Regions from separate parts of the Homo sapiens genome. Here regions 1, 3, 4 and 5 are each linked to region 2. The links are contacts of gene promoters, found by promoter capture Hi-C in human tissues and cell types (Jung and others, 2019). All regions are on one chromosome and are shown on one strand. The core of a region is centred on a gene start or on the middle of the fragment in contact, and the rest is flanking DNA. Distances in the headings are between cores, read along the strand shown. Region 1 overlaps HLCS (holocarboxylase synthetase). Region 2 holds the start of SIM2 (SIM bHLH transcription factor 2). Region 3 has its middle 83 kb from the start of CLDN14. Region 4 overlaps HLCS (holocarboxylase synthetase). Region 5 overlaps HLCS (holocarboxylase synthetase).

Evidence for each region. Contacts are between HindIII fragments. The study calls those that stand out against the background at their distance.
Region 1: a fragment that was not itself captured here is called in contact with the fragment with the promoter of SIM2 in region 2 in 2 of the 25 tissues and cell types used here (dorsolateral prefrontal cortex and mesendoderm cells).
Region 3: a fragment that was not itself captured here is called in contact with the fragment with the promoter of SIM2 in region 2 in 3 of the 25 tissues and cell types used here (IMR-90 fibroblasts, bladder and spleen).
Region 4: a fragment that was not itself captured here is called in contact with the fragment with the promoter of SIM2 in region 2 in 3 of the 25 tissues and cell types used here (heart left ventricle, lymphoblastoid cells and mesendoderm cells).
Region 5: a fragment that was not itself captured here is called in contact with the fragment with the promoter of SIM2 in region 2 in 2 of the 25 tissues and cell types used here (liver and lymphoblastoid cells).

Annotation. Positions count from the first base shown.
Region 1 is chr21:36,904,754-36,907,506 of GRCh38, reverse strand. The region is part of intron 5 of HLCS (holocarboxylase synthetase); the gene reads left to right. Among named protein-coding and RNA genes, the nearest start is that of HLCS-AS1, 60 kb to the left of the region's middle. The HindIII fragment of the contact is 8,102 bases long and covers 1-2,753 here.
Region 2 is chr21:36,697,848-36,700,547 of GRCh38, reverse strand. It overlaps SIM2 (SIM bHLH transcription factor 2), which reads right to left and starts at 1,433. Exons shown (of 11, transcript NM_005069.6): 1 at 627-1,433. The coding sequence starts at 801. It overlaps LOC105369308 (a long non-coding RNA gene), which reads left to right and starts at 1,557. Exons shown (of 3, transcript NR_188246.1): 1 at 1,557-1,639. LOC107985492 (a long non-coding RNA gene) reads right to left here and starts at 32. Exons shown (of 4, transcript XR_001755029.1): 1 at 1-32. RefSeq lists an enhancer at 1-206. The HindIII fragment of the contact is 19,577 bases long and covers 1-2,700 here.
Region 3 is chr21:36,562,070-36,564,834 of GRCh38, reverse strand. It overlaps a transcript of CLDN14 not described here. Among named protein-coding and RNA genes, the nearest start is that of CLDN14, 83 kb to the right of the region's middle. The HindIII fragment of the contact is 4,931 bases long and covers 1-2,765 here.
Region 4 is chr21:36,882,760-36,885,459 of GRCh38, reverse strand. The region is part of intron 6 of HLCS (holocarboxylase synthetase); the gene reads left to right. Among named protein-coding and RNA genes, the nearest start is that of HLCS-AS1, 82 kb to the left of the region's middle. The HindIII fragment of the contact is 3,396 bases long and covers 1-2,700 here.
Region 5 is chr21:36,830,600-36,833,299 of GRCh38, reverse strand. All of the region lies in intron 6 of HLCS (holocarboxylase synthetase), which reads left to right. Among named protein-coding and RNA genes, the nearest start is that of SIM2, 130 kb to the right of the region's middle. The HindIII fragment of the contact is 5,234 bases long and covers 1-2,700 here.

The sequences.
Region 1 (2,753 bases), core at 217-2,716, 210 kb before region 2:
TTTTTGTATTTTTAGTAGAGATGGGGTTTCACCATGTTGGCCAGGCTGGTCTCAAACTGCTGACCTCAGGTGATCCACCCACCTCAGCCTCCCAAAGTTCTGGGATTACAGGTGTGGGCTACCATGTCTGGCCAGCATTATCTCTTCAAGAACAGCAGTTGTTAATATTCTTAATTTTTATAAAGTCCAGCTTATCACTTTTTTCCTTTTATGGTTCATGCTTATTTTGTTCCATCTGAAAAAAACTTTACCTACCCAAAGTCAGAAAGGTTTTCTCCTGTATTTTATTTTAGAAGGTTTGTAGTTTTACATTTAGGTCTATGATTTATTTCAAGTTAATTTTTATATACATGTGAGATAGAGATCAAGGTTTCATATTCTTGCATATGAATGTTTGTTTCAGCACCATGTATTGCAAAGATTATCATTTTTCAAGTCAGTTATCTTGGGCACTGTTGTCAAAAATCAATCAAACAGGCCAAGGTGGGAGGTTGGCTTGAGCTCAGGAATTTGAGGCTGCAGTGAGCTGTAATCACACCACTGCACTCCCCACTGGGTGGTAGCGCAAGACGCTGTCTCAAAAAAATTAAAAAAAATCAATCACACTTATATGTTTGGCCCTATTTCTGTACCCTATTCTGTGCCAGTAATCTATACCTATCTCTGTGTGCCAATACCACACCGTCTTGATATACTGCAACTTTATAGTAAGTCTTGAAAGCAGATAATGTAGGTTTTCCAACTTTTTGTTCCTTCCCAAAATTGTTTTGACCATTTAAAATAGTTTCTATTTTCAGCTTGTTAATTTCTACAAAAAAAAAAAAAAAAAGCCTTCTGGGATTTTGACTGGGATTACATTGAACCCATAGATTAATTTGAAGAATTGACATCTTAACAGTGTTAGTCTTCTGATCCATGAACATGGTGTATCTTTTCAGTTATTTACAGCCTCTTTAATTTTCTTTTTGTGTTTTTGAGATGGGGTCTCGCTCTGTCGCTTAGACTGGAGTGCAGTGGTGCCATCATGGCTTGTTGCAGCCTAGCTCCTGGGCTCAAGTGATCCTCTCACCTCAGCCTCCTGACTAGCTGGGACTACAGGTGCATGCCACCACACCCAGCTAATTAAAGAAAAACTCTTTTTTTTAGACATGAGGTCTTTCCATGTTGCCCAAGCTGGTGTCAAATTCCTGGGCTCAAGTGATCCTCCATACTCAGCCTTCCAAAGTGCTGGGATTACGAGTATGAGTTATGATGCTCAGACATCTTTAATTTTTAATTCAGGAGTGTTTTGTAGTTTTCAGTAAACAGGTCTGGCACATATTTTGTTAAATATGTCCCTAAATATTTCAGATCTATTGATGCCATTAAAATGATATTTTAAAGAAGTTCAGGCTCCAAATATTTATTGTTAGTATATGGAAATGCACCCAATTTTTGTTTTGTTTTTTTTTTTTTTTGAGATGGAGTCTCACTCTGTTGCCCAGCCTGGAGTGCAATGGTACAATCTTAGGTCACTGCAACCTCTGCCTCCCAGGTTCAAGTGATTCTCGTGTCTCAGCCTCCCAAGTACCTGAGATTATAGGTGTGTGCCACCACACCCGGCTAATTTTGTATTTTTGTAGAAGTGGGGTTTCACCATGTTGGCCAGGCTGGTCTTGAACTCCTGACCTCAAGTGATCCACCCACTTTGGCCTCCCAAAGGGCTGGGATTACAGACGTGAGCCACTGTGCCCAGCCAATTTTTGTATATTGACCTTGTATCCCACAACCTTGCTAAACTCACTTATTAGTTCTATTTTTTTTTTTAAGATTCCTTTGGATTTTCATGTCCTGTGCAACATGACCCAATAAAAGACAAAGAATATATTCACCTTTCTTGAGAATGACTGGTGCTGTGGCTGATTTAAAAGGGCCACATTTATGTGACTATAAAGCATTCAGCTGTTGGTTCCACCCAAATCATATTTAATTAACCTGAAATCCTAGAAGAAGAGAAATACTAAATTCTTGAAGATTAAATGTTAGAAAAATAACATTAATTAGAATTTTATAAACCCCCTTGAAGTGGAATCTGATAGTGGTTGTTTGTTGTCAATAGAACTAGCTGTAATGATTTCAAAGACTGTGCATTATTTTTGATGCTTACGTAGCCATCTCAAGACCATACTCTCTCATTGTCTTTTTTGAGTTTTACCTCTTGATTACCTATCTATCTGTTATTTGGAGAGTTTTCCTTGGTAAGGTTTTAATGTGCATTTATACAGTAAATGCTTATTAAGCATGCACTTTTGTCCTAGGTTCCATGGATACCGTTGGGAGCAAAACAGGAACATATGTATATTATCTTTATGGAACTTATATTCTAATAAGACAGTGTGGCATTGAATAAGCACTTATACAAATTATGTATAGTCGTGATAAGTGCTATAAAGTAACTAAGGGTTTACGAAAGTTTGTGAACGGCTGTGGGTCAGAGACATCCTCCCTATAGAAGTGACGTTTTAGCTATCCTCTGATAGTTGAGTTCAAAGAAATAGGTGCATTTGCGTATTGCAGAGTGGGTAGTGCTACTTATATGTCAGCCCACTTGTCTTGATGTCTATGATCCAAACCTTTTTTCTTCAGTAACATTTTTACATTGCATGGTCATTAGGAGAGTTTAGGCAAGAGTCATGAATTAATTCCTTTTCCCTACATGTATTATTAGCAGCTGTATATGCAACTCTCAAGTCATAATCATAATTTGAGTGCAT
Region 2 (2,700 bases), core at 184-2,683:
TCGTAGAAAGAAAAGGAGGAAGGGAAGGAGGGATAAAGAAAGGAAGGGATGGGGAAAGAAAGAAAGCAAAACCAGAGTGAACTTCCAAAGAAAGGAAGGAAAGCAGAAAAGGAAAGAAAACAAACCAATGCATTGGCAAAGGAAGGAAGGAAGGAGGGAGGGAGAGAGGGGGCCAAGGAAGGAAGGAAGGGGAGAATGAAAGAAAGAGGAAGAAAGAAAGAAAAAGAAAGAGAAAGAAAGAAAGAAAGGAAAGAAAGAGAGAAAAAAATCCAAACCAAACCAGAATGCACTGGCGAAGGAAGGAAGGAGGAAAGGGAGAAAGAACAAAACCAGAAAGAACTCGCTGGCCGTGCGGGCTGGGGGACTGCCTGCCCCTGGAACAATTCGTAATTCGCCCTCACCCAGCCCTGGACCAGGAGAGGGTTTGGTCGCCTGGGCCGCCAAGGCCCTGGCCCCTCGCCCCAAGCCAGCGCCGAAGCCGAAGACCCTCACGCAACCTCCCTCAGACGCCCCAGCTCTGGACGCCAGGCCGCGGCAACCCCTCTGGGCGGGCTGGCTTGCGCTTCCCGCCTGGGCCGGGGCCGCCGGGCTCCCCAGCGTCCCCGGCCGCCCACCTGAGGCCTCACCTTCGGGGAAGACGGCGCGCATCTTCAGGTAGCTCGTGGTGAGGCGGATGATGGACGCTTTGTCCAGCTGCGAAGTGATGGCCGACGGCAGCGGGAGCAGCTTGGCAAGCTCGTAAAACTCGCCATTTTCCTTCTCCCTCCTGGTCTTGGCCGCATTCTTGGACTTCTCCTTCATCGCGCCTCGGCTCCGGGCATATTAGACCCGGCCGTGCTCCAGGCCCGCGGAGCCCCGCTCGGGCTGCGGCGGCGGGGATGGGGAAGGGGGAGCCGGGAGCCAGGTGAGTCCGCGGAGTGGGCCGCGGGCAGGTGCGGGGGGCCTCCCGGGGTTCCGAGACGCCTCCCCGCAGCCGCCGGGCCTGAGCTCCGAGCAACCCGGCGGCGCCGCCCGCCGCTGCCCGGAGCGCAGCCTCCTCCGGGCTGGACCGTCCTGCAGCAACCGGAGCCCCGTTCCTGCTCGCTCCTGTTTCCTCCCTCCTGCCTCTCCTGCCTCGGCCTTCCTGGGGGGTGGGGGCGGCCGGCGCGGAGGCGGAGGCGCTGCTTACTCCTTCGTCGAGTGCTCGAACCGGCTGCGGCAAGGCCCCTCCGGACCGGAGGGCGACAGGGGCGGCGGTGGCCGCGGAGCCATGGAGCGGGAGCCCAGCGGAGGGGAGCGAGTCGCAGGCGGCTGGGGCCGGGCCCTGGCCCGGGCGCGCTCTCCTGCCCTTCCTGGCGGCTCCCTGTGCCTGGAGACGCAGCGCCGGAGCCCGCGATGTGTGGCTAGGCGCAGCACCTCCGCTGTCCACGTGCGGCCGAGCCGCGTTTGTTTATGGCAGACCCGCCTTCGGGCGGAGCACTGGCCGCCTGGGTCCCGGAGGGGGGAGCGGGAGGGGGGAGGGACCGCGGCGGGGGCGGGGGCGGCGAATCTTGCCTCCGACCCCGCCGCGGCCCTGGAGTCACAGGCGCGCCTCCGCGTCGCTGCCTCCAGGGACTCTCCCGGGAGAGACCCGCGCGCTCCCGGGTTCGGGGAAGTCGCGGTGAGTGCACACGGCGCGCCGCGGGGACCCGCTCCTGAGCGCCGGTCGCCGGACCCCGGAGCTAGGATGGGCGGCAGGGAGGGCGAGGGAAGGAGGGGTGCCGAGGCCGCCCCTGTGGCTCTCGGGAAGGTCACCAGCAGGCGCGGCCGAGAGGAGGCGGCGCGACTCGTTGGCCAGGCGCCCTGCCGGGGAGGATCGAGCCTTCCGAGGGTGCGCTGGTCCCGCGTCCTCGCCCTCCCGGTGTTGCAGGTCCAAGAGCTGAAAAGGGGAAAGCCGGGAGCCCCCCTCCCCCCATTACACACACACGTGAAAACGGCGCGAGTGGCTCCGAAGTGACCCTTCTGCCCTTTCTGTCCTCGAAACACTAAGGTGCAAAGAGATTGTCGCCTTCTCAGGAGGAGCGGGAGGCCGCAGGGGCGCTCAGGCCAGGGGAAGGGAGGGGCCAGGGAGCCCAGCCGAGTGGTGAGGCCTCTCCCAGGGCGCCGGCGGAAACAGGGCCCAACTGCCGGGGCGGCGGCAAAAGCAGCCCGATTCAGCGCAGCCGGAATTTTGAGGAATCGGCGTTGGGCGATTAAGGGCCAAGGTCGCTGAGCCAGGGTCACAGGGTGGGCGCAGGTGGCGCAGGTGGGGCCCATGGTGATGGGGCAGAAGGCAATTGGAGAAAGAAGACTCCGTTGCAGACGCGGCCACTGGGCATTCTGGACTCTCCTTCAGGGTCATTTTGGACCTAAAGAGTCCTTTTGTCCCCCCTCTGCCCTCCCCTGTCCGGCTCCCGCAGCCTGGAAATGGGTGTGCGGCCCAGGAGTCCTCCGCGCACCCCTGCAGCGGCGGTCACATAACCCCACCTCTTCCAGGAGTGCAGCTTTCCCGGCCCCCCAGGCCAGAGACAGGCTCAGAGGACGCAGGGCAATTCCTTACCTTGGCGTCGAGATCATGTGGGGACTCTCGGCCGTGTGCCACAGGCTGCAGAGCCGTGGAGCAGTGGGGTGCGTGACCTGGAGGTCAGCAGGGGCCGGGAGGACACCGGGCCGCGGATGGGGGCGCGGAGATTTGGGTTCTCG
Region 3 (2,765 bases), core at 79-2,578, 140 kb after region 2:
TCACACTGGCTCTGACTTTCTGCCTCTCTCCTTCACATTTAAGAACCCTTGGTACTACATTGGGCTCACCTGATAATCTCCTTATTCTGAAGTCACCTGGTTAGCAACCTTAATTCCCTCTGCAACCTTCACTGCCCTTGCATGTAACATAACATACTCATGGGTTCTGGAGATGAGGGCATGGGCGTCTTTGGTGGGAAATTATTTTACAACCACAGCCATACACATCACCTGAGGTCTCTGGTGAAACGCCCTGGAATTGACTCTAGAATTACATCTAGGAGGTTGCTCACCAAAGAGACTCAATCCCAGCCCCTTCTCTCAGTGTCAGCCAAGGCTGTCCTCCAGGGGCGAAACCACACCTGTTCTAGATACTGGAAATGGGTTTTACTGGTGGTTCTGTCATCTTAAGGATCCAAATCAGAGGTGTTAATGGAAGGCAACTCCATCCCAACTCTTCACACTTTTCATCCCTAATTGATGGCTTTTGTTGGCTTAGCGATAGCTGGTAGTTTTCTCTGGTGCCTACACCCTTGCACATAAATTTAAGTAGGGCACCTGGTGATTACACCTAAGTTAGGAAAACAGGCATCCTTCTTGACACATATTCTTGACACATGCCAGATTTCTATGGAAAATTTATATAACACTGCAAGAAAAGGCTAATTTTGCTGACAAACACTGAGCCGAGCTCCTGGTTTGATGTCAGGTTTAGCTCTCAGGGAGCCACATTTGCCACCTGCCTCATCTTCGGCATTTCTCAGAACTCCACAGAACGAGGGTGCAGCCCAGGACTGGGGAGTAGGGCGGCCAGATTTAAGGCATGTGAACTTTCAGGTCATCGAATACACTTTCCCATTAGGGAAGGGGCACGTTTCCTTAAGAGTTTGGGGGATCAGAACTGAATCCACGTCTGTCTTTTTGATAACATAATTCAAATATGGCGTAATGGCGCCTGGGGGAGAGGGAGTGAATTTGAGGATTATTAGTTTCACTGCTCTGGAATAGGTCCCAGAGGAGACCACGCAGAGACCTTGCCCAACAAATTGCTGGACCTCTTTTTGCTGAGCCCTGTCTGCCAAAAGGCTCCACGTGTCTTTCGCATCTCCACTATCCCCACCATGAGGTCTCTTCCCACAGTCTCCGAACCTCCATGGGAGCCAACATTTTCTAATAATCGTTTCCTACATAAAATCAACAAGGGGAAAAATTCCTCTTTAAGCACATGTCTAGATGATTCCATTTCTCTTTGACAGAGAATTATCAGTGACGGCCCTATGGCTCATAAGACTGTAAGGATTGTAAACCTCTGATTAATGGAGTAAGACAGATTGTTGTTATTCACGGAATTCAATATCCTAACCTCAGACCCATGTTTACAGCACATTGACTTGCAACTTTGAAAAAAGCCCTGCTTTTTTTTTTTCTCCAACATGTTTAGTTATTAACAGAGAGCGCTACGGTAAGGAAACCAGGCCAACATATCCAGTTGGGTAGCCTAAACCAGAATATGCACTGTATGTAGTGATTTAGGATTTAAAACCCCAATAATGCACGGAGATGCTATGACTCCAATCTTTTTCCCATATTACCTGCAACTTGTTCTAGATGAAACCCTTCAAAGCCCTCCGTGATTAACTTTTCAAAACAGTGTCATGCATTTTCTTGTTCTCTAAGCAGCAGAGAATGTAGCCCATGCATCTCAGGCTGCTATCATTAATTTTTTTCCTTTCCTTCTTTTACTTTTAAGTTAGTGATTAAAACACAGAGGTCTTCATGAAATATGACTCCCCTGAAGAATGATAACATTTCATTCTGCATTTTTGCAGCACCCAAGTTCATGTTTAGATGAAGGTGACCACTTTCATTTCCATCATCTTGTTATGGCTTCGAAATCATGCCATATTATTATTTGCCCCATTTTGCAGAGGAGCCAGATGAAGAACAGAATGAATAACTTACCCCAAATTACCCATGAAGCCAGGGTTATTAGAATTCCCAGGCCAGTGGGCTCACCACAAAACTACACCGCTTGACTGTGCTGAGAACCAGCCAAGTCTCCATCCCAGATGATCACTGCCTATTCCCCAGGCGGGAAAGAGGCCAGATGTAATTTGCTCATGAAAAAAAAAAAAAAGCACAGAATGGATAGGGGATCCTTTGAATATTTTAAAGATAAGGGTGAACGCATTTCTTTAGAGATTATTAAAAATTAATTTTTAAAGCAAAACTGATGGGAAAATCATAAACACAAGATGACACATGGGTTGGAAGCGATCAACTCTGGAGACTTGGTGGGGCTTTTCCTTAGAGAAGAAAATAGGTCCTTTTCCTCAGGAATATTTCAGAAGAGGTCTTGTTATGGTTTAAGAGCCAGAAAATGGGAATAAGCTTAGTACTTAGCTGAAGAATGAGCTGGGTGCAGAATTACAAAGTGGATGTCCCATGTGTTTCCTGTTTCCTCTTGGTGCCCATCTCTTGGCTGTAGCCTACTTCCTGCCCTTGGGTCCCTCCTGGTGACTCAAATCTGCCAAAGAGGGTCTGAGATGCAGGCTCATGAAGCCCCATAGAAAGCCATACCCTGCCAGATTTCCCACCCTCTTTCAACAGTACCCATCCTAGTCCTCTTCTTCAGGGTATCTGTTTCCCTGTGTGACAATGGTGCTGATGGATTAATCAGAGACATTACCCCTATGAATACACATTAGCTAGAGGATCTATCATCCCTCAGAGATGATTGTAATAATAGCCTTCTTTGCTGCATT
Region 4 (2,700 bases), core at 62-2,561, 190 kb before region 2:
CATGGCTCACTGCAGTCTCAACTTCCTGGGCCCAAGTGATCCTCCCACCTCAGCGTCCCGAGTAGCTGGGACCACAGGCGTGAGCCACCATGCCTGGATAATTTTTAAATTTTTTGTAGAGACAGGGGTCCCACTATGTTACCCAGGTTGGCCTTGAACTGTTGAATTTAAGCGATCCTCCCACCTTGGCCTCCCAAAGTGCTGGGATTATAGGCATGAGCCACCGTGCCTGGTGTGGTAGGTGTTTTCTTGGAATGGAGTTTTTGTTTGAAGATTTCGACAGTTTTTTTCTCATACTAGAACCAATTGTTTGTTGCTGGTTACTGTTGTGCCAAAAATATTTTAGTCCAACTTTTTTTGAAAGATGAGAAAACATAGTCAGTTGTCCATGTTTGTGTTTCTCTTATATGTGAAGCAAGTCTCTTTTTCATTGAACCTTCTCTTTTTTTGAAATCTTAACCCTTTAGTTATCATTTTCACAGGTAATTCACAGTCATTTCAAAAGAGCCAAATCTGCAGTGGTTTGAACATTTTCGCAGTCCCTTGGATATGCCTTGTGCATCACCCACACCTTCCTGAGACCCCTGAACCTTCCATGACAGTCAGAAACACGTGCACCTGACATTACTACATTCTCTTTAAGCTCTAAAAAAAACCCCAGATGTTTATTACTCTGCAGAATTGCTTGATTGTAACTACATTTAATATTCATTTTGTCAAATGCCTCTGTTTTATTTAAACAAGCAATAAAAGACCACAAAAGGTAATAAGGCAAGGTTTAGGGTTAGAAAAGATAATCAATAAAGAGGGTGACAGGGACTTCTCTATGCTCTTTTCCCCCCAGTTCAGGTTTACCTTAGAGAAAAATCCAAATGTGTTGATTTTAGTTTAGTAGTGAGCTGAATCTGCTGAGGGTTGGAACTGCTTCCACTCTAGTCTTTAGATTGTAAAGGAGTTATTCTTTAGCAGAAGGGCCAAAGACATGACCTTGGAATAACCAGCCTGAGTTTATTAGAAGTCTGGTTTCCCACTGGGCAAGGCTGCATGGGATGCTGAAAGCAGGGCAGGCTCTGGAGCTTCATTGGCTACTGGCCTGGGGCAAATTCCATGACATCTCATCTTAAAATGGACAAGCTGCAATAATGCCCACTCATGGTAATGCCATTTGTAGGAGATTGGTAAGGGTGGTGGGAAAAATTGCAGAAGATGCAAACCTTCTTGGAAGGCTGGAAGGTTTTACAAAAGCTTCGGAAAAGGATTTGGCTGAAGGCAGCCAGATTCTTTTATCTGGTGCCTGAAAGCTTACGTTAGATAACAAGGGGATATAAATAAACTGATCTAGGTAAGTTAGTTTACTTAGGCCTTGGAACCTCGCCCTTAAGCATCCACGCACAGAACTACTCTCTCCGGGTCTGGGTGACCATGTGAATTGCCCACAAATGTGTTGACTCAAGGCCTTTGTCATTAAATCTATACTGAATAAATGCCCACAGTGCCGGCTTTTCGGGGCTGTGGCTGCTGACTCATTACAGCACCCTCCTTGGTGTCTGTGGGTGGCCGGGTCCCCTAGCCTGCTCTTTCACTGGATTCTTGTGTCTGAGTGCATTTGTTCATCCGTTGTTCAGCCATGGTCTGCGGGTCGGACCTGGCAGCCATTCATGTGGGGAAGGTCAGAGCAGGTGGTGCTGTGGAAAGCCCATTGCATAGTCTCTGACACGGAGTGGGGTGGCCACCAAGAGTTGGTTTAATCTCCTCTTCAGCTACCAAGGAAGACAGGTGCTTTCCCCACACAGCGCTGCTGATAGCCACCGACAGTGGAAACTGCAAATAAAACCTGAGCATATGTTTCAAGATTCTGATGCAGTAAGAAATCTATGATAAGAAAGCAGCATTGCCCAAACTTGGATTATGATTTAACAGTAGTTTCTAAGTAGAAACTTTTTTAGATATTCTTAGACGTTAGTGTTCATGATTGAGGTCTGACCAGTCACCTGGACACATGGGGTGTGCAGATAGAGGTTGAGTTCCGGCTTAAAAATATGTTTTAGTCAAAATCTGTCAATGTTTAAAATAAATGTGCCAGTTATCCCAGCAGGTATTTTTCCTCCTACTTGTTAGGCATCCCTCTCTTCCATTTCTTTTTCTCCCCTGACTTAGCTTTGTGGCTTATTTAGAGGGAACTTTTGTTTTTCTTTCAAATAAAACAGTTACCTGCTTTGGAGGTGAGAGTTGATTTGCTTTCACCTGCCCCTTTAAAATCTTTTACACACCTACCATTTGGCAAAACACCTTCTGAGCTCTGAAATACCTTTGTTGTTTCTGCTTTTTGTTTTGGAGAGAAGCATGTTCTGTTTCTGCATGAGGGGTATTCCGTCACTGTGAGATCCCAAACGCCACATTTTTTCTGCATTGCACAAGGAGTCATTCATCATTTTCATTTTTTGTTTGGCTCTCCCATAAGAGTATTCAAATTAGTGAGAAGGAAACGATGAAGTCATTGCCTGGCGGAGAAGGATTTTCCCTGGTTGTGGAAGGGCAAGGAGATGAGAAGGAGGAATGATGGGGAAGTCTGTACCTGCCTCTTTCTTTGCCCTTTGGTTCCAGAGGTCACCTTGATGCTAATAGAGTTTTCAGTTTAAAATTGGGTAATATGTGCATACAGAATTTACCTAAAAATGAAATACAAAAACCTCAGACTGG
Region 5 (2,700 bases), core at 56-2,555, 130 kb before region 2:
CCTAGCACTTTGGGAGGCCTAGGTAGGAGGATCACTTGAGCCCAGGAGTTCAAGAACCAGCCTGGGCAACAAAGTGAGACCTCATCTCTACTAAAATTAAAAAAAAAAAAATTTAGCTAGGCATGGTGGCATGTGCCTGTAGTCCCAGCAGGTTGGGAAGCTGAGCTGGGAGGATCACTTGAGCCTGGGAAGTCAAGGCTGCTATGGACTGATTGTGCCACTGTACACCAGCCTGGGTGACCTTGCCTAAAAAAAAAAAATGGTCTTCTATTTTTGGGTGCTGTGTGGCCTCTGTCTCATGGTATTCCCTTCCTTTGCCCTTCTAGAAGCTGGAAAATAAGGAACAAGCTCTTCATTCTCCTTAGTTGTCTAAGCAGTGGAACCAAAAGTGTGGTGCTAGAGAAGGCAGCTGTGCATCTGAGGCTCCTTACAACCCTTTGAAGGTTCAGGCTGTGATGAGGGCTGCCTTTGGAGGGAACATCCTTTTTTGTACCTACCTTCAAGGACACATTTTACTGACTCTTGAATTAGCATGATATTGCTAAATGAGAGAAAGTAATTCCAAGATCATGTTTTAAAGAAAACAGTGAACAAAGAGTTAGGGAATGGCCTCCCATGTCAGAGCTGAGGCTTTGCCTTGGACTAGCTGTGTGACTTTGGGCAAGTCACTTAACCTTTCTATGCCTTATTTTCCCTATCTGTAAAGTGAAGATACTGTGAGTGTCATTGTTGTGAGTATTAAATGAGCAATGGCTGTAAAGTGAACAGAACTGTGTCTGGCATGTGCTAATCTAGCCTAGACTGTGAGTGAGGTCGGGAAGCTGGAGCCCTCTTGTACTTTACTGTTTCATTGCTCACCAGCTCCCTTCCAACCCTTAACTGAGTCTCATGTTAAAGAGAAAAGCTTCAGAGTTGTGTGATCTATATTAGAATCTTCATCGAGATTCTCTGTGCTGTGTAATTTCACCTGCTGAGATTCTGGCTATGTGCATAGTCAGGGAAATCTTTGTCTTCCTTTTCTTTCCATCCTCTTCCTCCTCATCAGCCATCTCTTCTACCTTTTTGCCCTTTCGTTAGGTTATAACTTGGAGCACATACAGCCAGAGGACACTTGCCCAGTAATAGGACAGAGGAGAGGCGCCGAGGCATATCTAGCCGCAACCCACCCGGCTGGCCTTAAAGGACCAGGCCTTCAGTATCTAATTGAACCTAAATGCCAATTTATGTGCAAGAACACATCCTTCAGGGAACTGAAAGGATTTTTTTTCCCCTTCCACCGTGGTGATGGAAAGGCTGAAAATCTGAGCTGTGAAAGCTTAGCTGTGCCCTGTGTCCTGGGCTCCTTGTCTTGTGTCTAATCAATGATCTCGATGCTATTAGCTCAGGGCAGGTCATTAGGGAGCATTTCTAGCGAAATTGCTCAGAGCCAGTGATTTAGAACCAGTTCTGAAACTGAAATATAGGAAATTGTATTTAAAAAAAATTTTAAATATATTCCCTTCTACTCATAAAGGAGACCTAACCCTAAACCACTCCATACCTAAATAGAATATTTTGTTTCCAGATGACATAGCTGCTGTGATACAATAACTTTATTTTGATTGATTTATTGTTTTAGAGTTGGAGTCTTGCTCTGTTGCCCAGGCTGAAGTGCAGTGGCATGATCTTGGCTCACTGCAACCTCCACCTCCCAGGTTCAAGTGATTCTCCTACCTCAGCCTCCTGAGTAGCTGGGACTACAGGTGCATGCCACCACACCTGGCTAATGTTTTTTGTATTTTTAGTAGAGACAGGGTTTCACCATGTTGGCCAGGCTGGTCTCGAACTCCTGACCTGTAGTGATCTGCCCACCTCGCCCTCCCAAAGTGCTGAGATTACAGGTGTGAGCCACCATGCCGGCCCAGTAACTTTATTTCTATATTCTGAGACATGTAATTTATTTCCTTCCCTTTGGCTACCCTCAAAGATTTCTATGTCTTCCCACTTCCTTGAACACTTTCAAGAGAGCTTTAAAGAAACGTTTTGCATAACTTGTCATGTCCTTATTTAGCCATATGAGAGAGTTAATTGTAATCAGGAGAACCCTACATCTCTTATTTGATTTAATATCAGGAAACAATGTTAAAAAAAATAGATTGGAGCTTCTACTTGAATAAGGCCATGGGATCACGTGTTGAGTTTATCTTCTCCCCTTCTTAAAACCCTCCGAAAAGATTATACAAAACTAATAGTTAAACATCTACAACATCAAAGGAAATAAAGGTGGTTATCAGCAGATAAGATTTAAACCGAATTTGGGGAGATGAAAAGCAGGTGGAGGATGACAATGATGAAGCTGCCTTAGGGTGATTCCTCCCTTTAAAGAAATGGAATGGCTTTCTGGGGATAACTAGGGTAGATACCTCAGAGTAAAAGCCTCCTCATCCTGGATGTAGGGATCACCTGTGTCTACCCTTTTTTTTTTTTTTTTTTTTTTTTGAGAGAGGGTCTCACTCTGTTGCCCAGGCTGGAGTACAGTGGCATCATCATGGCTCACTGCAGCCTCAACTTCCAGGGGCTTGTCCAGAGTTGTTGAGACTACAGATGTGTGCCACCATGCCCTGCTAATTTTTTAAACTTTTTTTAGAGACAAGGTTTCGGGTTTCATCATGTTGCCCAGGCTGGTCTCGAACCCCTAGGCTCAAGCGATCAGCCCACCTC